Regions from separate parts of the Homo sapiens genome. Here region 2 is linked to region 1. Evidence: promoter capture Hi-C in 16 types of primary human blood cells and fetal thymus (Javierre and others, 2016). All regions are on one chromosome and are shown on one strand. Each heading gives the region's core, a stretch centred on a gene start or on the middle of the fragment in contact. The rest is flanking DNA. Distances are from core to core; before and after follow the strand shown. Region 1 holds the start of NYNRIN (NYN domain and retroviral integrase containing). Region 2 overlaps CARMIL3 (capping protein regulator and myosin 1 linker 3).

Evidence for each region. Contacts are between HindIII fragments. The CHiCAGO score rates a contact against its expected background, and 5 or more counts as called.
Region 2: a contact is called between a fragment that was not itself captured here and the fragment with the promoter of NYNRIN in region 1, in 2 of 17 cell types (activated CD4 T cells and neutrophils). The highest score is 7.0, in activated CD4 T cells.

The regions. Positions count from the first base shown.
Region 1 is chr14:24,397,746-24,400,446 of GRCh38, reverse strand. NYNRIN (NYN domain and retroviral integrase containing) reads right to left here and starts at 1,444. Exons shown (of 9, transcript NM_025081.3): 1 at 1,361-1,444; 2 at 1,003-1,217. The coding sequence starts at 1,200. RefSeq lists a silencer at 1,301-1,390. The HindIII fragment of the contact is 6,271 bases long and covers 156-2,701 here.
Region 2 is chr14:24,064,490-24,067,465 of GRCh38, reverse strand. It overlaps CARMIL3 (capping protein regulator and myosin 1 linker 3), which reads right to left. Exons shown (of 40, transcript NM_138360.4): 33 at 2,193-2,508; 34 at 1,716-1,844; 35 at 1,002-1,068; 36 at 810-899. LOC105370412 (a long non-coding RNA gene) reads left to right here. Exons shown (of 2, transcript XR_943619.2): 1 at 1-370; 2 at 469-682. Among named protein-coding and RNA genes, the nearest start is that of CPNE6, 5.6 kb to the left of the region's middle. The HindIII fragment of the contact is 1,266 bases long and covers 853-2,118 here.

The sequences.
Region 1 (2,701 bases), core at 195-2,694:
ATCTGCAGTAGGTGTGCGTGGTGAAGGGGAAGGTGGTCTGGGGCAGAGGGAGGCTGTGGCATTCCTACAAAGAAGAAGTAAGATAAAGGAATCTAAGGGAAGAGGTAAACCTTGGGGGACAGTGGAATCTGACAGGCCCAAGGGGAGGAAAAGCTTGTGAGAGAAGCCAGGGAGATTGCAAGAGAGGCGCACTGTGATCTGGCCTGTCCAAGGTCCAGCCCCACATAGCAAGCCCTTTCATCTGAAAACCCATAGCCCTCCTCCCAGACTCCCACCCATCTCCAAGGGCTGGGAATCTGGGAAGAGGGCTGCACCCCACTCTGAACCCCTGCAAGAAGCTGAGTGGCATCAAGAGTGTGGGGCAGGGAGCCCAGAGCCCTGGGTTCTGGTCCAACCCCCACCACCTCACCTACCTGACTCTGAGCACTCAGCCAGGCCCCTTACCCTCTCTGGCCACCAGTACCTCATCTGTAAAATGCCAGTATCACTCTAGAAGCATCTCTAAAGGCCCCTCCAGTCCTAGTACTCAGAGGCTCCAAGGGGCAGCCCAGGATTTAAGGAGACTTAAAAGGAGACAGAAGGACCTGGGCCTTTCAGTCTTGGTGGAGAACAAAGAGGTGTGTTGCAGAGGCCACAGAAATACAGCGCCTTGAGTTGCTCCCCAGATGGAAAAGTGGGACTGCTGATGCTGGGGCCCTGGCCAGGGAAGTCTCATGGGGGACACACACCGAGGAGGTGCTCTCAGTGCACTTGAGGGACAGAGGTGACACGTAGGGAAGGGGTGGGGCAGGAAAGGAAGGAACCAGAGGGAAGAAGCGGGCATGGAAGGAGCGCAGGCTGATCTGGCGAGGCAGGAGGATGGCCCACTACCTGCCTGCCACACTGCCAAATCCAGGCGGGGGCAGGGTGGGTGGTGTCTCTGCGGACCACCATCTCCCCAGGGGAAGGGGAGAGAGTGATCTGGCTGGAAGAGATGGGTGGGGGTGGGGAGAAGCTGTTTACCTTGGCTTTGCCCATGTTCTCTCGGGGCCCCTCGAGCTGTAGCCAGAAGTAGGGGGTGTCCGGGCGGCTCTGGAAGGCGTTCAGCTTGACCCTAAAGATGCGCTGCACTTGCAGCCGCTGCCGCTGCACCCGAGGCTTCGATTTTGTCTGCACCATGAACCATTCCTGCGCCGGAGGATCGCCCCCAGACAGGAGCATGGCTGCCCCGCCCGCTCCTGGAACGAAGGAGACGATAGTGTCACCCGGGTCTCGGGGCGGCAGGCGCCCCAGCCCCCAGCCCCAGGCGCCTAAGCCACGCCCCCTCCTCCCCGCGGCGCGCCCCCCGCACGGCCTCCTTCCTCCAGGCGGCGGGACCCACCCCGCACGGCTCGGGCGCCCGCCCTCTGGAGCTTGGTCCCCTTCGACCGCTGCTACCGCGACGAGCTCTTCCTGCCCGGGGTTGTAGCTAGGGGTGGGACCGGTCGGGCTCCTGCCGCCCTTCCCTCCGCCCCCAGCCTTCCCCCTCCAGCACTCTGCCAGCCCCTCCTGGATCAACTCTGTCTCCGTCTGCTGGATAGCTTAAAGGGGCGCGGAGGAGAGGGCGGGGGAGCCGGCGGGGGGGAGGAGGGGGCGGGGAGGGTCCCGGAGGCCTCTGCCTTCCACCCAAGTTTTGGGCCCAGAGCCAGAATCCAGGGGTCAAAGTTAGTTTCCTTCCACGTTCCCCTCTTGCTAGTGGAAGGACGGGGAAGAGGAAGGAGGGGAGGATTGGTTTCCGGCACCCTTTTTTGAGATTTGGAACAAGGATCTCTCCCCTTTACCCCCACCTCCCCCCTACCCCCAACAGCCTCTCCCAGGCGTCCCAAGAGAACGGGGACCTCGGCCACTCCTTCCCTGGGAGGAAAGGGTTAAGGTAGAGTAGGGTGGGGAGCCCAGGGAGGCCGGGGCCTAAGGAAACTCTGGGCTGGAGACCAAGCAGGAAGGAAAGGGTAACAGCACTGACTCCCCACCCCCCACTGAAGTCTAGGGACAGCTTGGAGCTGGCGGGCAGCCCAGACCCTCCTGAAGCCCCCCAGGGCTGGAGGGGCGGGAGAGCTGCCAGAGTTTTCAGACTTGAGTTGTTTATGAAAGCCCTTTTTAGCACGTTTGAGTTATGCTGTGAGGGGAAGGAGATAGAGGGTCCGGGCAGTAATGTAACCTCCGAGGTCTCCTGCAACCCCTGACCAGTCAGCCAATTGGCATCAGTGGTCTGGGACTAACCCTGGGCTAGGGGACCACCTTCAACACCCAGGCTCTGCTCACATCCCCAGCACAAAGAACACCTTATACAGCCTTGGGCCTGAATAGAACCTGGCCCTGTGGAGGGCAGGGCCTATGTCTCGGCCTCAATGATCTTATTTTGCAGACTAAAACGAAGAGCCACAGTCTGATAGACACAAGTATACCTATGAGGTCAAAAGGCATCAGACTTTAAATTAGGCCTGCCCTGGAACATCTGGTCTGCAGGGTCGTTATGTGTTTGTGTGCAGGCAAGGGACCAGGAGCACCCCACTGCAAGGAAGGGGCCCAATTGGGGGCAGGGAGGGGCTCACGCTACTCCTGGTCTGGACTGGACTCAGCCCACCACACCCTACTTCATCCTGCACACCTGATTCTTCTCCCTAGATTGGAATCCAGAAAAGGAAAAAATGATCTGTGTTACTTCTGGCTCCAAAGCCTTCTG
Region 2 (2,976 bases), core at 236-2,735, 330 kb after region 1:
CCTTACGCCCTAGCCTGGTGGTGGGAGTGAAAGAGGCTGAGGGGGTGTCTCCATCTACAGAGAGATTTTGTCTATGTCAATATTGCTGGAGGGTCATGGTCCAGGCCTTTGGCAACTGCTGGACTGAGCGAATGCTGAGCTGACCAGCTTTTCTTTAGTGGCTCCCTAAGCGGAAGGTGCTCTGAAGCCAGCAGAAAGGAAGTGTCATGCCTGGGATAATCCCCTCCCTTTTACTCCTCCGGTCATGGGGCCAGAAAGTAAATGACTTGTTTAAGGTCGCGGGTGGCTGAGAAGGACTAATACTGCAGGTTTCTGACCTCCGAGGCGAGCTCTTGCCCATGTTTGGGGCACCTTTCTGCGTGAGCTGAGGGTGAGTTGATAAACGACTTCTGGAGGAGGCTGGAATCTGAGGTGGGCCTGGCACAGCTGGTACTTGCTGGCAGTTTGACTTGCCCACCCTCTTCCCAGCAAGGTGCAGAGAGGAGCCTTGTCTACAGAGGCTGCCACTGTGCCAATGGTGACCAGAGGCTGCACCTGCCCTGGAGAATTCGCCAGAGCCATCCACAAAGCATCGCTCCTGTTTGCCAACACTGGAGAAGCCGCTTTTGTTCTGTAGAAGCTTTCTTTGGATTGGGTTGTTTGTCTCTTTTGGATATAGCTTTGTAAATATCCTTAAACATTTTCACTGTGTTGACTTCTCACTGCCCCACCTTGGCCATAAATTCCCCAGCACAGGGGCCATGGGCTTCTGTTTCTTTGGACACACCCTGGGCTTTCAGTACTGCTGCCTGAAAAGAGGCTTTCCATACCTATGTGCCATGTGGCCTCTGCTCTGCGCATGGCGCTGAAGCTTGGTTTGGTGCTTTGGGGCGGTGGTGGGGGCTTCCAGGATCCAGGCCCTGGAGTAGAGAGAGGGGATGAGAAAGAGAGGAGAAAGGGAAAAGGTAAATTTGACCCCTGAGAGAGGGGTCCAAAAGGGCTTTGAATGTGACTGTTCTTACCTGCGTCGTCTGAAGAGCGCCGTTTCTGCCAGGCCTGGGTGCTGCCCTCCTGGTCTGGGCCTGGGCCCTGAAAGAACAGTGGGTCAGGTTGTAAGAAAGTCTCCTCTGTGGCAGGACTGCAGCTGACAAAGGGCTTCTGCTCTAGCATCTCCATGTCATTCTCATGTCATTAGTCCCTAGACACTTAAAACTGTTTCCCAAAGAGTGGCACCCATACCTCCCCAGGGGCACAAGAAATGGCTTACACAAATGAGTATACTTCCATCTTTATAGTTACATATGTATTTTACATGTAGTAGAAAAAAACACGACTCATTCAAAAAGCCTGCGATTTTAAAGATAATGTCTAGGTCTAGCCTAAGTTAAAAAAAGGTGAGTTAATTTAAATAAAAATACTATGTAAGTAATAATTCAGGTAAAAATCAGTCGCAAAGGTTATAATCAAGTCACCATTGTTTGGGAAACAGAGCTCTAGAGGTAAGTATTTTTATAACCCCTCATTTTACAGTAAAGAAGGAGAGGTTTCAGGAGGTGAAGTGACCAGTCCAGGGCTCCACGGCAAGTGTGTGGTGGGGGCTGAAGAGCAGCTAACATCTTCTAATGCCAAAGCATCTGCTTTCTCTACTGAACCACCAGGGATGAGGGAGTGGGAAGGAGAGGGTGGTGGACAGATACCCTCAGGACCCACAGTTTGTTGTCCCAGGCTCCACTCACCTCTCGTTTCCCATCGAAGCTCCAACCCTTGGCTCTTTCCAACCCGGGAAGGGCAACACCGTGAACCCTTGGCTGCTGTGCTGTCCCAGGGGCTGGGCCCCCCTCCCCTGGCTCTGACCCCTCAGTGCCCTAGAACAAGGTCTCTTATTTATTAGCAGTTCCCAGTCGAAGGGGGCTCCCCAGGCTGTGAGGGAGTTGTCAGGAGGACCCCTGCCTCACTGAGTCCCTAGCCACGGGGAAGCCCTGCAGAGACCCTCTGAAGAGTCCTTCCAACGCCTGCATTCGCATATAGCACTCCCAGCATGCTCTTGGCCACTGGGTCTTAGTCCACTCTCAAGGAGAGGAGAATTGAAATGACCAATGTTCCCAAGAACCCTGGGTCCTAGCATTCTCCCATTAAGCTTGGGGTGGGGTAGGAGACTGGGTTAAGTGTGGGGCAGGAAAAGGGGAAGACACAGCACCCCCTGCCTCACTTACCATCTTCCGGCGGAAGGAAGGTCCCCGGCCCCCACCAAATCCAGGGAGGAGGCTGCTCTCCTCCTCTGGGCTCCAGCAGGGAGAGGAGTTATTGCCGAGGCTTGGGGGGTCTGGGCTAGGGGGGCTCTCCTGAGTCGGGGGAGGGGGTGGGGGTGGAGGGAGGAGGAGTCCAGTGGTAGGGGACCCCGGCCCCCTGTCCCCCTTGAAGCTCCGGGGCCGGCGAAAGTGAAACAGGCCCCGGCGCCTCTTCTTCTGGAGTGGAGGCAGCGGTGCCTCCGAGAGTCCTGGCCGCACGGTCCTCAGAGTCCGGGGGTAGCTGGGGAGAATCGGGGTAAGTTAGCAACAAATGCCAGATGCAAGCTCAATCCTGGGTCTGATAAACCTGCTTTCCTCTCATCTGGTCTCCCCTGCTGCACTGCAGCCCTTTCCACTTAGTTCTCAGGGAGATGATGCCCTTGCCTTTCCTGTCCCGTTGTAATCCTCCAGCAGCCTTTCCCGCAGACTGATGTTTCTTCCCAGGCACCTCCCCTGCAACTCCTCTCAGCTTCTCCAAGTGACCTGGCTCCTCCTGGACAGACCCTGGGCAGTCTGCAGGACAGTGACAGGGAACACTACCCCCCGGGCCTCTCACCACTAATGGGTATCCTGTCCCAGGGCTGCCCCCCACCTCCCTCTCATCCACACCTGCTCTCCAACCCCACTGTGGTGGTTCACTCTGGCCCCATTCTTCCCAGCTGTCCTGGGAAGACGCAGAGGTCATGGGCCCTGAGGGCTGGGTGGGGAA